2 separate regions of the Homo sapiens genome follow, and region 2 is linked to region 1. The links are contacts of gene promoters, found by promoter capture Hi-C in human tissues and cell types (Jung and others, 2019). All regions are on one chromosome and are shown on one strand. The core of a region is centred on a gene start or on the middle of the fragment in contact, and the rest is flanking DNA. Distances in the headings are between cores, read along the strand shown. Region 1 holds the start of TNNT2 (troponin T2, cardiac type). Region 2 overlaps IGFN1 (immunoglobulin like and fibronectin type III domain containing 1).

Region 1 (7,940 bases), core at 3,409-5,908:
CCCTCAATCAGGAGGCACAGAAAGCATCATCTGCAACCGAGAGGACTCAGTGGGGACAGAAATCTGACTCCTCGCTGGACGCTGAGGTGAATGGTGGGGAGGAGCCTGGCCCTACGGCGGAGGGCCACGGTGTACTGTGGGAGACCCCATCGTCCCCGTGTGCACACACTAATTGGCCTGCAATCGCGCAGTCCACCCAGAACGCCCCCATCCCTGCTCATGCAGATTGGTCTGAGCCAACCGTGAGAACAAGGTTGAGCCCTCACCTGGTTGTGCTGCCTGCAGCTCTGCAGAGCCCCTCCCTCTTCAGCTGGCAGATTACAGGGCTCTGACTCCTTGTGGGTGTGGGGCTTGGGCAAAGGGATGCCTTCCTATCCAGTGGCCCCCTTCCCCTTCCATCCCTGACACCCCATTGACTTGTGCTAACAGCTCTTTGCCCCACAGGTGTGACAAGCCCCGCCAAGACAGACCTGCAAGTCTTCGTCTCAAGGGACCTCCCTCATGCCAGGCCCCTGCCTCTCACAGCAGCACCCTTTCCTCTCATTGTCCCTGTTCCCTTTTTGCCTGTGGATCTGTTTGGCCAGGGTCCCTGGGGTCAGGAATATTTGCAAGACTCAGCCAGCTCCTTCCCAGCCCAGCCTCTTGGGGCTGGGACTTTCTCACCCTGCGGCAGGCACAACAGATGCTGGGACCCAGTCTCTGCCCAGGTCACAGCACAAGTGCACATCAGCACTATGGGGCCTATGTCCTGCCCAGAGACCTCTGCTCCTTCCTGCTCACATCCACAGTCAGGGCACGGCGCCCCTCAAGAACTCCAGAGTCACCTGTCTCATCGGCTCCCAGCAAGTGCCTCTTTGTCTATGATGTCCCCCTTCTCTGAGGCCTGGACCCACCCATCTTTGTCCCTGGGGCCTGCTCCCAGCCACTGAGGCCCGCTCTGGCCAGGGGAGAAGGAGCTGCCGTGCGTCTTCCCTGTGCCCCGTCTCCCTGCTTGGTTCTCCCCTCCCTTCCCTGGCCGGCTGCCATGGCCAGGAGCTAAGTGCCTTTTTGTGTGCAACCACTTACCCTTTCTCTGAAAAACCTGTTCTCAGGAAGGATCTGATAAACTCATTTACTCTCAGGTGTAAGAGACTGATGAGACCTTAGAAGCGAATTCCTCTCTGGAGGCCTTGCTTTCTAGCAGAGGTCACCTGAAGTGTGTGAGGAGGATCATCATTTTCCTCATCCCCCCTCTTCTCACATTAAGGTGGTGGCTTGCCACTCAGCAGTCCTAGCTTGGTGACTGGGAACTGCCACATACAGGGCCAGGCCTACCCTCCTTCCCCACAAGCCCCCTCCAACCCCCACCCCCATGCTCTGGACCTCATGGCTCCTATGAGCTTGGAGCATGGTGAACCATCAGAGAATCTAGAACCAACCAAGCTAGGAACATCAGCCTGGTGCCCTGTTAACCCCTTAAAGCTGTGGTTTACAACTTTTCAAAAATTTAAATCATTAGAACTCTCCATCTTGATTGACTGCCCTAGTTTTACCCAGAATCAGCTGGGGATGTGGCCAGGTGCAGAGCCCCCTGCCCATTCCCCCTTTGCATGCCTGGGGAAGCTCCAGGTCTTTTTGGAACACGACCCTTAACACGGCTCCTAAGGGGGTATCACCAGTCCAGTTCCCCAAGTGTGTGGGGGATGAGCCCTAGCCCTACTCTGTGACTCTGGGTGAGGGCTCCTCAGATCTGTGCCCCAGGGGACAGGCCCTCAAAGTGCCATCCGTGCTCAGGTCCCAGTGCCCCAGGCTGACCCACCTCTGGTCAGTGAGTCTCCTGTGCCTGAGTGAGGGATATCGGGACCTGGGGTCCCTGCCCCGAGCACCTCCCACCCACTGCTAGTGCTGGGGCTTTGTGAGTGTTCCAACTTCATAGCCGAGAGTTGGAGGACAAGGCTGGGGCAGGGCCGAGGAACGGATTGAGTCCTGCCTAAGCCTCGGGACATCTAAACAGCTCTGGCTCTGCCCAGACCTCAGGTGTGACCCTGAGCCATTTTCCTTCTCTGAACTTCAAGCAGATGACCTCAGAGAACTTTCATATGTTCATGCCATGATAGGTGAACTTTTCCAGTAAACAAAACTGTCCCCACACAGAGGAGAGGCTCCTGGAGGCCTTCACCTGGCAGGGCCTGACCGTGGAGTAAGAGCCTAGGAAGACACTGAGGGGCCTGTTCCTGCAGCTGCAGCCTCAGCAGGGCCCTTCATGCCTGCACCCCCCTCCCCTGGGGTGCCCAGTGAGGGCTGACTGCTAGGGGAAATGTCGGGGTGCTACAGCACAGCCCCCTCCCCTGTGAATCCAGCACGTGAGGGCCCTGCCCTCGTTCCTACTGGGGACGCAGCCAGTAAACAAGGAGACCAGGGTGTGCCCAAGATGACCTCAGCTGGGGATAGATGAGTGGTAGCGACTGGGTGTCCAGGCGGGTGGGGAGGCCTCTGGATGGGTGACATTGGGCACCTTCTGGAGACAGAACAGGGCTCCCACACACCACTCCGGGCTGCACCCTCCTGCTGTCTTGCCACAGGGGCCCTGTGCCCCACAAGTGGCCCGTCCTATTGTGGATCCTCAAATTTACATGCACTGTTTCAGCATAAGCCTCCCATTCCACTCTGGCTTTGTTTTCTCTTTACATCCCTTTGAAAGGACAGGGATATAAAAAAAAAATGGGCTAAGAGTAACCCTACTATGCCCAGGAGTGGCTGCTGCATGGGGGCTGGATTTCCTTATCTGAGAGGCTGTCTCACAGCGCTCTGAACGAAGCTCCTGCCTTAGAACAATTCGAAGCCATACACGTGTGGCCTGTGACACCAAGGATCTACTGGGCTTTTCCCATGGGGCTCAGTAGTGACCTAGGTGCCCAGATCCCTCTTCTAGGCATCCATGCAAATAAACCGTGGTCTGTTTGAAAGGTTATTGGGCTTACAAGGAACAGTAACCCACCCTCAAGTTAAAAAAGGGTTTGGGAAAAGTAATTCCGAATTCTACGTTACTCCAGGCCAGGACCCAAGGCAAGGCTGGGCCCTGCTTCGTGGGCTAGAATGGGAGAGAGAGATGATGGGGCTCCCCCCACTTTCTTGACAGCCTGACTCCTTCCTCACTATCCCTCGGGAATCTGTCCCCTCCATCTGCCTGTCTCTCTACAAAGTGCCCCTGCTTCCCTGTGGTGGTCCTCAGTCCCACAATGCTGGCCAGCGGGCGGTTGGCTTCAGCTTGCCCTGCCACAGATGTGCTGGCAGTGTGGAGGCCCACGTGGCAGGGCAATCAAGGCCACTGGACTCAGAGGCCACAGGGAACTATGGAGGGGATGGAGTCAGCTGAGTGATGGGACAAGAGTCTGACAGCAGCATGGGTGTGGAGCAAATGGCAGTCCCCTGCGCAGAGGACCCTTTCAAGGACATTAGTGGTGGAGGCAGCATAGTAGCTCCCAAGGCAGAGGGATTGAGAGAAGAGTTTGAGGACTGGGAAGGCGGGACACATGATTGGGTGATGGGAGAAGGGGGCAGAGAATAGCGAGATTGCTTTCTTTGCCCACGGAGAAACAGAGGAGTGTGGATCATGAATGGGCAAGATCTTTAAGTGCCAGGGGGGGTCATGGAGGAGGGGAGGGCCTGCTCCAGAGGAGGACCATTCCTGCTTCAGAGCCAAGCAGGACCTAGGCTGTGAAGATTCGGAGAAAGAGATGGAGGGGAGAGTCAGCTCAGCTGCTTACTGGCTTGCTTTCCTCCTGTCTCTTTCATTTTCATAATCTACCAAACCCTGCAATGGGCCAGCCTTGAACATACAAGTGCATGTGCATGGTCAGACACAGGCAAGCAAGCAAGACCCCTAGGCCTGACCTATGCATCTGCAATCTAGTAGGTTTAGCAGATCATAGCCCCGCACTGCTTGATTTTAAAGCCGTTAGGGGATGACCTTTGACAGTCCGCATCACCCCTCTCACACAACGAGCGCCTGTTCAAGGTTCTTGACTGGAAGTTCTACCTTGTATCTGGCCTCCTGTAGCAGTTTCAGTCCATTCCCTGTGAGGAGGGTGTGCCACATGGCTTTGGGGGTCATGGAGAAGACCCACCTTGCAGATGTCCTCACTGGGGCTGGCAGAGCCGGCAACCTGCCTAAGGCTGCTCAGTCCATTAGGAGCCAGTAGCCTGGAAGATGTCTTTACCCCCAGCATCAGTTCAAGTGGAGCAGCACATAACTCTTGCCCTCTGCCTTCCAAGATTCTGGTGCTGAGACTTATGGAGTGTCTTGGAGGTTGCCTTCTGCCCCCCAACCCTGCTCCCAGCTGGCCCTCCCAGGCCTGGGTTGCTGGCCTCTGCTTTATCAGGATTCTCAAGAGGGACAGCTGGTTTATGTTGCATGACTGTTCCCTGCATATCTGCTCTGGTTTTAAATAGCTTATCTGAGCAGCTGGAGGACCACATGGGCTTATATGGCGTGGGGTACATGTTCCTGTAGCCTTGTCCCTGGCACCTGCCAAAATAGCAGCCAACACCCCCCACCCCCACCGCCATCCCCCTGCCCCACCCGTCCCCTGTCGCACATTCCTCCCTCCGCAGGGCTGGCTCACCAGGCCCCAGCCCACATGCCTGCTTAAAGCCCTCTCCATCCTCTGCCTCACCCAGTCCCCGCTGAGACTGAGCAGACGCCTCCAGGATCTGTCGGCAGCTGCTGTTCTGAGGTAAGGCTCGGGCAGGGCTCTGGGGAAGAGGAGAGCAGAGAATGGACGGGGAGATGTGAGGGTCTTGGGCCCTGGCATATTTACCCAGAGTCTGCCTGTGTCCGCAGAAGTCCATGGCCCCTCCTGGTGGAGGCCACACTTCAGAGGACAGGTTGCCAGGTCTGGGCTCCAAGATTGGTACAATAGAGCAGAGAGAAAGAGAGAATCCCATGGTAGCCATTGGAGACTAGGGTTGGAGTCCTGGACCTGCCACTAAAGATGTAGAGTTTAAACTCTTGGATGAGTCACTTTCCCTCCCCAGGCCTCAGTTTTCTCATCTGTAGAGTGGGCTAAATATTTGCTAGGCCTCTGCCTGCTCTAAATACAATGAGGCTCTAACCAACAGAGACTCCCCTAAATTGCTTGTTCCAGGCCGAGGGTCACCTATACCTTTCCAGTCAGGTCCTTCTTGAGTCCCAGGGAGCAGAGCGAGACTGCAGCCCTGTCAGTCAAGTGAGTCTCCTGGTCATATTCTCAAGGCTAGGAACTCAGAAACTGTCCTGGAAGTACTGAGAACGACCAGATGTGCAGGGTCCTCTGCAGCGCCTCTCCAGGCCAACGCGGGAATTCCATTTGATGCCGCTGACTCAGTGCCATTCCCTCCCAGAGCTGAGCTGAGCTCCCAGACCCTGAGCTGAGCTGCACTTGGGGGGCAGATGGGGAAAGGCCCCACTGGGAGAACCTGTCCTTGGGTGTGAGCCCAGCTGGTTGGCATTAAAGGGTTTAACCTGGGCCCCCGTAAGTGTAACCCTTGTCCCATCCCACCCCAACACCCCATCTTGGGACAAGCCTTGCTCTGTGCCCAGGAGTGGTAGAGAAAGATTCCCTTGGTTTCTAGTTTCTCCTGGGCAGGCTGAGGACTATTCAGGGAGGGGGTTGCCTGGTGTGTAAGGAATTTCAGAGCACATTCCTGGCCTGCTGTAGCCGGGAAGCTACCTGCCCTCCCAAATTCCTTTTCTGACCCATGTCTTAGAGGGCGAATCTTCCTTCTCTCTGCAAAAGTGGAATCTGAGAGGATCAGGTTGCTGGCTGCCTCCTATTTCTGACCCCCACTTCCACTCTTCCTGCCCTCTCCCCATCCCCTTACCCCCGCTCTCCTGGTGGGCTAACAGCTGTTGGCTTAGGAAAATCCCATTCGAGTGCTGGGGACAAGGACTGAGGGGTGGGGCCTGTGTTTCTCAGAAACTCGGAGACTGTTTCTACAGGGACAGAACTCAAGGCTCTCCTGCTTTGTAGTTGGTTAACTGAAGTCAGAGAGGCTAGGTGACTTAAATAAGGCCACACAGCAAAATCTGGGTTTTAAGCCCAGATTTTTTGACCCCAAGGTCAGTATGCCTTATGCCTTCTATTGTCTTTGCTTTACTCCCCAAGAAAGGTGACCCTGTGAACGTGTTAGGCTTCCAACACGTGTTGGCTATGAATGCATTAGGCTAGAAAGCTGCCTGTGGAAGTGGGTGGGACTTGGGTGTGAGGACACAGGTGTTTCAGGACATTCTGGTTCCTTGCCCTGCCAGGTTCTTGACTCTCTCCCATTCTGCAGCCCCCAGTCTCAGCCCACCTCTTTCCCCTGCATCAGGTCCTGCCTTTGAGCCACTGGCATGGTGGTGTCCTCTGGGCTGGCTGAAAGCCCTCCTCCATCCTGCATGTCTGCATGCTATTTTTGGGAGCTGGATGGTGCCCCCAGGAACAGGGAGAGGAGTCCAAGCTGCTCTGTCCTCCTGTGAGGCCCCAGCACCATGCCCAGTGGCTCTGAACTGGTGGAAGGGCAGAGTAGGAGAGGAGAGAGAAAGCTAGAAGCTATGCGCCCAGGCTGGCCATGCACGGTTCCTCTGAGAATTTTCTCCCTCCCACTGAGGGACAAGCTTCTCCTGGGGCTCAGGTAGGAGCTCCTCAAGTTCTCAAGTCACTAGTTCTGGCCGCTCCCCTGGGGCTTTGGGTAACAATTGTCAGCCCCACCCATCCTAGGGTTAGGAAGGCTATTCTCTTTGGCCACTCTCATCCTAAGACCTATTTGGAGAACCTCTGGGGTTTGAGTCTTTTTTTCAGCAGAATGAGGCTTGATCCCGCATTATAGCACCTCGCACATTTGATGTCTCTTCTTCTCACCCACTCACCCCACCCTGGGGGTTGGGGCAAAAAAGTGGCTCAGAGCTGCGGTTCAGAGCTCCTTGTAAACAAGGCTCCTCCCTCACTGTCCTCACCCTGCTCCAGCAGAGGGAGCAGCGGAAGGACCACTCTGCTGCAGCCATGCTTGTTTCTAACCCAGCAGAACTGGACATAATGGGAACAGGGTCTGAAGACAATCAATCCAGGGCTGCAGTGGGTGCTGAGTCTGGGGAAGCCTCCACCTGGAGGGGCAGCTGGGCAGTGGCAGCTCCCTTGGAATGGCTCAGCCTCTGGACATCACCCCACCCAACCAGAGCCCTGGCTCTTGCTGGATGTCCACAGATGAGTGCCTGGGATTGGTCTCAGCCACTATGGGGGGGATGTGCAGGGAGAGGTGATGAGGGAGTGAGCAGGACTGTCTATGTGCCTCTGTCCTCATCCTGAGGCTTGGGTCTGAAATTGGTGCTGCAGCACTGGCACGCGTGAGTGGGGCAGGAGGTGGGCAGCAGGGGAGGAGCATTGGAGGGTGGTCCTGAGCATCATTTGGATTCTTCTCCCGCCTCACTTTAGCCTCACTCTCACATCACCCTGTCCATTCTCTCCCTTGGAAGCCAACATCAGGAAGGCTGTGGAGCTGGCATATTGCACTATAACAGAGGCTGCTGTTCACGTTTCAAACAACGTGATTGTGTCCCTGGAGCAGTGCACTGTCATGGCCCCGGAGGGTTGGGTCATAGTAGTTATTAGCTGAATGCCTACACTTCACACTACCTCTGTTCCTCACACCTACCCAAGAAGAGCAGTAATTTCACAGCAAAGAGAGCTGAGATGTGGGGAGGTTAAGTGACCTTGCCAAGGTCGCAGGCAAACGCATGCTGGAGCCAGCATTCAAAACGAGATTAGTCTCACACTCAAGTGCTTGCTCTCTGCCCCCTCCCTGTGATTACATGCTCATTGTAACACCTGATGTTGCCTAATGCCTTCCCCTTTTGTTAATGTCAACTGGAGCCTCGTAAAGACCCTGAGTAGCCAGGATGTGTACACTTTATCTCCATGAGACAGAGAAAGGACTGAGGTTTG
Region 2 (7,940 bases), core at 3,312-5,811, 150 kb after region 1:
TAACCTGCACATTGTGCACATGTACCCTAAAACTTAAAGTATAATAATAATAAAATAAAAATAAAAAAAGAAAATGAAAGGAACTGTGAAATGAAAAAAAAAGATAAGTGAGAAAAGATAATGAGGTAACAGATTAAGAATAAAAAGAAGATACATGTTTCTACTATGAAGAATGAAAGAGGATATCACTACAGAGCCTACAGATAGTAAAATGATTATAAGGGAATATTATAAACAACTTTGTACCAACAAATTCAACAATGTAGATGAAATTGACAAATTCTTTAAAAGTCGCAAGTTATCAAAGTTCATTCAGGAAGTCACTGGTAGCTTGGATAGCCCTATATATTTGTTGAAAAAATTGAATCTGAGGTCAAATCCTTCCCACAAACAAAACTCCAGGTCCAGTGGCTTTATTGGTAAATTCTACCAAACATTTAACGAAGATGTAACATCAACTCTAAACAAACTTTTCCAGAAAATAGAAGAGGAGTAAGTAATAAAGAGTCTAAGACGACCCACACATGTATGGTCAATTGACTTTCAACAAGCATTCCAAGGTAATTCAATGGAGAAAAAGAAACTCTGACAAAAAAAAACCCCCCAGCTTGACTCTTAATACCTCACACCACACACACCACATACAAAAATTAACTTAAAATGCATAGAATGAAATGCAAGAAGTAAAACCATAACACTTCTAGAAGAAAACAGGAGAAAAATCTTTGTGACCTTGATTAGGCAACTCCTATTCTTAATTTACAAATGAGGAACAAGGCATAGATAGGTTAAAGATCTTGCGCAACTAGTTAGTAGTGGAACTAGTCTTTAAACCCTTAAACTTATGCTTAGATGCTTTTTTTTTTTCATTATACTTTAAGTTCTAGGGTACATGTGCACAACATGCAGGTTAGTTACATAGGTATACATGTGCCATGTTGGTTTGCTGCACCCATCAACTCGTCATTTACATTAGCTATTTCTCCTAATGCTATCCCTCCCCCAGCCCCCCACCCTCCAACAGGCCCTCATGTGTGATGTTCCCCACCCTCTGTCCAAGTTTTCTCATTGTTCCATTCCCACCTGTGAGTGAGAACAAGCAGTGTTTGGTTTTCTGTCCTTGTGATAGTTTGCTGAGGATGATGGTTTCCAGCTTCACCCATGTCCCTGCAAAGGACATGAACTCATCCTTTTTTATGGCTGCATAGTATTCCATGGTGTATATATGCCACATTTTCCTAATCCAGTCTATCATTGATGGACATTTGGGTTGGTTCCAAGTCTTTGCTATTGTGAATAGTGTTGCAATAAACATACGTATGCATATGTGTTTATAGTAGCATGATTTATAATCCTTTGGGTATATACCCAGTAATGGGATCGCTGGGTCAAATGGTATTTCTAGTTCTAGATCCTTGAGGAATAACCACACTGTCTTCCACAATGGTTGAACTCCCACCCACCAACCAACAGTGTAATTTACACTCCCACCAACAGTGTAAAAGTGTTCCTATTTCTCCACATCCTCTCCTGCATCTGTTGTTTCCTGATTTTTTAATGATCGCCACTCTAACTGGTATGAGATGGTATCTCATTGTGGTTTTGATTTGCATTTCTCTGATGACCAGAGATGATGAGCATTTTTCCACGTGTTTGTTGGCTACCTAAATGTCTTCTTTTGAGAAGTGTCTGTTCATATCCTTTGCCCACTTTTTGATGGGCTTGTTTGTTTTTTTCTTGTAAACTTGTTTAAGTTCCTTTTAAATTCTGGATATTAGCCCTTTGTCAGATGGGTAGATTGCAAACATTTTCTCCCATTATATAGGTTGCCTGTTCACTCTGATGGTAGTTTCTTTTGCTGTGCAGAAGCTCTTTAGTTTAAGTAGATCCCATTTGTCTGTTTTGGCTTTTGTTGCCATTGCTTTTGGTGTTTTAGTCATGAAATCTTTGCCCATGCCTATGTCCTGAATGATATTGCCTAGGTTTTCTTCTAGGGTTTTTATGGTTTTAGGTCTAACATTTAAGTCTTTAATCCATCTTGAATTAATTTTTGTATAAGGTGTAAGGAAGGGATCCAGTTTCAGCTTTCTACATATGGCTAGCCAGTTTTTCCAGCACCATTTATTAAATAGGGAATCTTTTTGCCATTTCTTGTTTTTCTCAGGTTTGTCAAAGATCAGATGGTTTTAGATGTGTGGTGCTATTTCTGAGGCCTCCGTTCTGTTCCATTGGTCTATATCTCTGTTTTGGTACCAGTACCATGCTGTTTTGGTTACTGTAGCCTTGTAGTATAGTTTGAAGTCAGGTAGCATGACACTTCCAGCTTTGTTCTTTTTGCTTAGGATTGTGGATATGTGGGCTCTTTTTTGGTTCCATATGAACTTTAAAGTAGTTTTTTCCAATTCTGTGAAGAAAGTCATTGGTAGCTTGATGGAGATGGCATTGAATTTATAAATTACTTTGGGCAGTATGGCCATTTTCACAATACTGATTCTTCCTATCCATGAGCATGGAGTGTTTTTCCACTTGTTTGTGTCCTCTTTTATTTCATTGAGCAGTGGTTTGTAGTTCTCCTTGAAGAGGTCCTTCATATCCCTTGTAAGTTGGATTCCTAGGTATTTTATTCTCTTTGTAGCAATTGTGAATGGGAGTTCACTCATGATTTGGCTCTCTGTTTTTCTGTTATTGGTGTATAGGAATGCTTGTGATTTTTGTACATTGGTTTTGTATCCTGAGACTTTGCTGAAGTTGCTTATCAGCTTGAGATTTCGGGCTGAACCAATGGGGTTTTCTAGATATACAATCATGTCATCTGCAAACAGGGACAATTTGACTTCCTCTTTTCCTAATTGAATACCCTTTATTTCTTTCTCTTGCCTGATTGCCCTGGCCAGAACTTCCAACACTATGTTGAATAGGAGTGGTGAGAGAGGGCATCCTTGTCTTGTGCCAGTTTTCAAAGGGAATGCTTCCAGTTTTTGCCCATTCAGTATGATATTGGCTGTGGGTTTGTCACAAATAGCTCTTATTATTTTGAGATACGCTCAGATTCTATACTTGACTGGCAGGGACTTTTTTTGGCTTTGTGTGGAAATGAATGAAAATGCCATGACCATTCCTTTTGTCTTCATATCCCACCCCAGTTACAGAAGTATGCTAGCCCCTCCCAGGGACACCTAACTTGGCCTGCCCCAGGATATTGGCACTCTGCTGTCCACTGCCAAAAGAGACAACTGCTTTCCACTGTCCCAGGCCTCCAAGGGCAGGAACTCCACCTCCATCGTGGTTGGCGCCCAGAGCACACATGCACCTGTAAATTTGGTCCTAGAATGTTTCCCTTTGGCATTAGACCAAAGGGCTGTGATAGCTACATAGGTCACCCTGAATTGTCTAATCTGAACCATTTGCCAGCCCTCGAACCCAATTTGTGCTTCCCTACCTCCTTGCCTTTGCTCATGGTGTTCTCCACCGTGATACACCCTTGCCCATTCCTGCCTGTCCAGTTGCTACTTTTCCCTCAAGCATGTTACCACTTTACGAAGCCCTCCTTGAGGTTCTCAGTCTGCAGCATCTCTCCTCCTCTGAACTCCTCTAGACTTTATTGGTGCCTTTCTTAGAATATGCATCACAGGCTACCTTGGATTATGGCTCTTGGTATTCAAGTCTTGCGTCCCTGCCATGGATCCCTTGGCTATAGGACTCATATCTGAGTCATCTTCATCTCCGCCTCCACAGTGCCTGATCCAGGCTCATAAAAAAAAAATGAAGGTGTCTTATGAAGCCATCATGAGTTATAGTCTTTTGTCCTTATATTGCCTCAATAGGTCAGTCCCCTGTAGCCCACCCTTAGAGGTACAGAAAGGTCTCTCTTCTCATCCTCAATATGAGTGTCTGCTCAGAGCTAGGCATGCCACAGGCACTGGGTCACCCCCTCTGTGCAAACGACCTCTTCTCTGCATTTCTGAAACCACAGACTATTGGCCTGAGGCCCTGCCCTCCTTCAACTCCAGGACCGTGCAGCATGGAAAGAACTCATGAGAACTGCCCCACACAGGCTGAGGTGTCCAGCCACTGCCTCTCAGTTTCTAAGAACTTCCTTCTTTTCCTATGGCCATGGTGTTGGCCTGCTGTGTTAGCAAGGTAGAGATAACAAGAGAAATTCCAAGGAAAACAGCTCATGCAGGTTTCTTTGGTAGGGGAAGGAATGAGCTATAAAAGGTTGTCTGGTGTGTGTCCCTGCCTCTGGGGGACACTCTTGGTCTATTTTAGGTGAACAGTTCTCTCTCCGGTTCAGAGAACCTTCCCTTGGTCACATATTCTCACTCTTCAGAAACAGATTTTTGGCATTAACCCTTCCTCCTGTGATTCACCCTCCTTCCTTCATGCATCTGACCTGCAGTTAGTGGCAAAGGGAGGCTGAGGGAAGCAGAAGCCAGGATCTGAGCAGAGGGAGTGAAGGGCAGACAGTGTTCTAGCTCATCGGGTCACCTGCTGGGCCTCAGAGCTGATGCCCTGGGAGAGAGTGGGGTTCAGCCTTCCCCGGGGCTCCTTCCTTTCTTTTGGCTCCTGGAAACTCTGGAATATTTCCTGGGAGCCTGAGAGTTTGGGGGCCATGCCTTGAGGATAATGGAGTGCAAGAGTTCTGGGGGCAGTGGTGGGGTGACCCACCTGGGAAAGGGAGGCATCCCATCCCTCCTGTGACATGGGGCAGTGGGGACTGTGAAGAAGGTGAGGAGGCCTCATGCAGCCTTGAGTGAGAGTCACCCTCATGCACTTGAGAGCCTCTTTCTTCCCCTTCTGACAGGGGCATAGATCCTGGAGTAGGATTCTCCCCAACTCAGACTCTTTCTGGTCCCGGGGAGTGACGGACATAGGCCAACCCTAGGCAACCCCAGCCCTGTGGTCCCCACACACGTAACACCTGGGGAGGCCTCCAGCCCTGCTGCTCACAGGATTTCTGCCAGTCAGAAGAGTGCAGGAAACAAAGGCCAGGAGGAAGAGAAGCCTCTCCATTACCCTCTAACCCTTCTTGGCTTTCTCGCCCTTGCAATCAACTATGTAGGCCTGGGCTGCAGGAGAAGAGTCCAGTTCTGAGCCCGTTCTTCCTCTATCCAGAACCCACCCATCCTCCCAACTGAAGCCTGGAATAAAGGCTCCGCTTTGGAAATCTTTCCTCCAACACACCCACCCCAAGTAAATTTGCCAATGATCTGCCTGTATTAGCCTAATGTTTTAATGAAGAAACGCATAGAAAGCACTTGCTGCACCCCTGGAATCTCTTGAATCCAGGAGGTGGAGGCTGCCCCCACCCACACACACGACCTTGATGCCCTAGTCCTCACCCAGGTCCTCTGACCTCCTCTCCTCTTCCCTCCCAGTGGTCACAGCAGGCCCAGCTGTGCCCACCCTCCCTCCAAACGGCTCAGCCCAGGAAAATAAGGAGCCGGCCCATCCTGCAGGCAGGTGCCCTCTGGATCTCCTGAAGCGAAGAAGAAAGAAACCCATATGGTGAGGGTCCAGGAGGTTCGCTGTCATTCTGTTGAGTGACTTAGCTTGGAGCCAGGAGGTGGAATGCCCTCCTCCCTTGTTTTTCTTCCCCAAGGACTTCACGTCCTCCTGGCCAAAACCTCGCCAGGCATCTTCTCACTCCCATTTTCCTGGGGCTCTGGGCACAGCCTCCATCCTTGGGATTGGCTTCCCGGGCCAGTGCAGGTGTCGGAAGTGAAGCTTCAAGGGTCCAGGACCATCCCAGGGTGAGGTGAGGCTAGGTGCTGGGTTCTGCAAGACACAGGATATTCCAGTTGGTTCAGAGGGGCAGCCACCCCACCCTGCATCTGTTCAGTGGTGAAGAAAACTCAGAATGGGGCTTAGACTACAGGCTCTGCCATCAGGGGGTGTGGGTTCAAATCTGGAGCCACCACGTGCTCTCTAAGCTTGGGCAAAGCCCTTTGCTGGCCCCTCGGGGAACCATAATCACCCCCAATGCCATCTTCGTTCCGGGACTACATGTGTACACAAGCTGGGGTGTTTCGAGAGTGGCTTCCTAAATGCCTAAGCACAGGTGCTACAGAGAGGAGAGATGCTCTGCTCCAGTGCAAAGGGGCCGTTTTTCCACAAAGGTCAATTGAGGCTTGCCTTTTATTGCTATTCAAAATATAAGGTGTTTTAAGTACTATCGAAGGAAAAACCTTTATTAACATATATATCTGTGCTACTGAAAAGGAGACTACCAATGAGAGAATCAGCATGGCTTTCTAGGCACTAAGTGTTCATATCTTGACATACTTAAGAAACAGCAATACGGATGCCTGTTCATCTCTCAGCCTGCAATGTGTAGCGTGGCCCCACTGGGAAGCTTAGGTGAGCAGTACACAGCCCTTCAATCAAGAGTTGCTCACCAAGTTCAAATACCTCATTTTAAAAGTGGGCAAATCTGCCGGGCACAGTGGCTCACACCTGTAATCCTAGCTCTTTGGGAGGCCGAGGCGGGTGGATCACCTGAGGTCAGGAGTTTGAGACCAGTCTGGCCAATATGATGAAACCCCCCTTCTATTAAAAATACAAAAAAATCCGCCAGGTGTGGTGGCGGATGCCTGTAATCCCAGCTATTCAGGAGGCTGAGGCAGGAGAATCTCTTGAATCCAGGAGGTGGAGGCTGCAGTGAGCCGAGATCATGCCATTGCACTCCAACCTGGGCAACAAGAGCGAAACTCCGTCTCAAAAAAAAAAAAACTAAAAATAAAAATAAATTTTTTAAAAAGTGGGCAAATAAAGACCACATGTGGGCCGGTGTTGGTAGGTTAAATAGCTGAAAGTTCATAGAGTCAGGCAGAGAGTCCTGGTCTCCTGACTCCCGGCTGAATCCCTCTAGGCACCCCCCGGAGCCTCCCTGACAGGCAGGTGGTTGCTCTCCTGGCTCTCCTTCCTGCCCCACTGCCAGGGCAGCCACCATTACCTATGACAATGAGGGTGGCAGTGCTGACTGCCTGGCCCAGCGTGTTCTCAGCCACAGCCTTGTACTCCCCGCTGTCCTTCGGGGATACGCTGGGGATGGTGAGGGAGCACACGCCCAGCAGGTCAGTGCTGTACACCGCGGGGTTTCCTTCCAGGCTGCGGTCATTCTTGAACCAGGTGACGTGGGGCCGGGGCGAGCCCTGCACGGCACAGCTCATGCAGCACTCGCAGCCCTGGGGCAGCAGGTGGGACCGCAGGCCCACCAGGAACCGGGGCTTCTGGCTCAGGTCGGGCTCCCGGTAGCACGGAGCCTTCACTGTGAACCTGTCTGTGGTGAAAGCCGGGGTGAGAGAAGAGGGTGAGAAAGCGAGGAAGGCCTGGCTGAGACCCGGGTCTGGGTAAAGAGTTCATGAAGCTACCATGTAGGCCTTATCTGGGATTTCCTGCCACATCTTGCCTGCAAATTTGGACCCCAAGGCTTGCCTCATTCTATCCTTTTCCTAAAATTCTTTATGGATTTTTTTTTGTAGCTAATACACATTCACTGTGGACAATTAGAATACACAGAGAATCAAAGGAGAAAGAATAAAAACCAAATCATAATCTCACTACCTATAGATGACTATAGCTGACATTCTGGTGTAGAGCTTTCCTGAAATTTTTGTATTTTATGAAAATGAAACCTTGATTTGATTTTATAGCCTGCTTTTCTGTGACTGATCTTAAGGTCCACATCTACTTTGCGGTAAAATATACACTTTGTTTTCAGAGAAACATTAACCTCTATTTGCCTTATTGTCTGTGGCTGCTTTTGAAAATCCTCCCAAAGGCACCTCAGACACCAAAACACCCACACCAATCTCATTCTTCCCACGGAGGTCGGGGTGCAGAGGATGCCAGAACAGGTGGGTGTGAGGCAGGAGCGGGAGGAGCAGCAGCTCGGGGCTGCTGGCTGTTATTTGGCATGCTCCAGGCCATCCCTGCCA

What was found. Contacts are between HindIII fragments. The study calls those that stand out against the background at their distance.
Region 2: a contact is called between a fragment that was not itself captured here and the fragment with the promoter of TNNT2 in region 1, in 1 of the 25 tissues and cell types used here (IMR-90 fibroblasts).

What each region holds. Positions count from the first base shown.
Region 1 is chr1:201,374,398-201,382,337 of GRCh38, reverse strand. TNNT2 (troponin T2, cardiac type) reads left to right here and starts at 4,658. Exons shown (of 17, transcript NM_001276345.2): 1 at 4,658-4,715. It overlaps LAD1 (ladinin 1), which reads left to right. Exons shown (of 10, transcript NM_005558.4): 9 at 12-86; 10 at 445-1,505. The coding sequence ends at 450. RefSeq lists enhancers at 2,052-2,815, 4,152-4,689, 4,690-5,227, 5,632-6,128. The HindIII fragment of the contact is 17,386 bases long and covers 1-7,940 here.
Region 2 is chr1:201,226,224-201,234,163 of GRCh38, reverse strand. It overlaps IGFN1 (immunoglobulin like and fibronectin type III domain containing 1), which reads right to left. Exons shown (of 24, transcript NM_001164586.2): 23 at 6,956-7,282; 24 at 5,212-5,778. The coding sequence ends at 5,765. Among named protein-coding and RNA genes, the nearest start is that of IGFN1, 39 kb to the right of the region's middle. RefSeq lists an enhancer at 7,616-7,940. The HindIII fragment of the contact is 5,710 bases long and covers 1,707-7,416 here.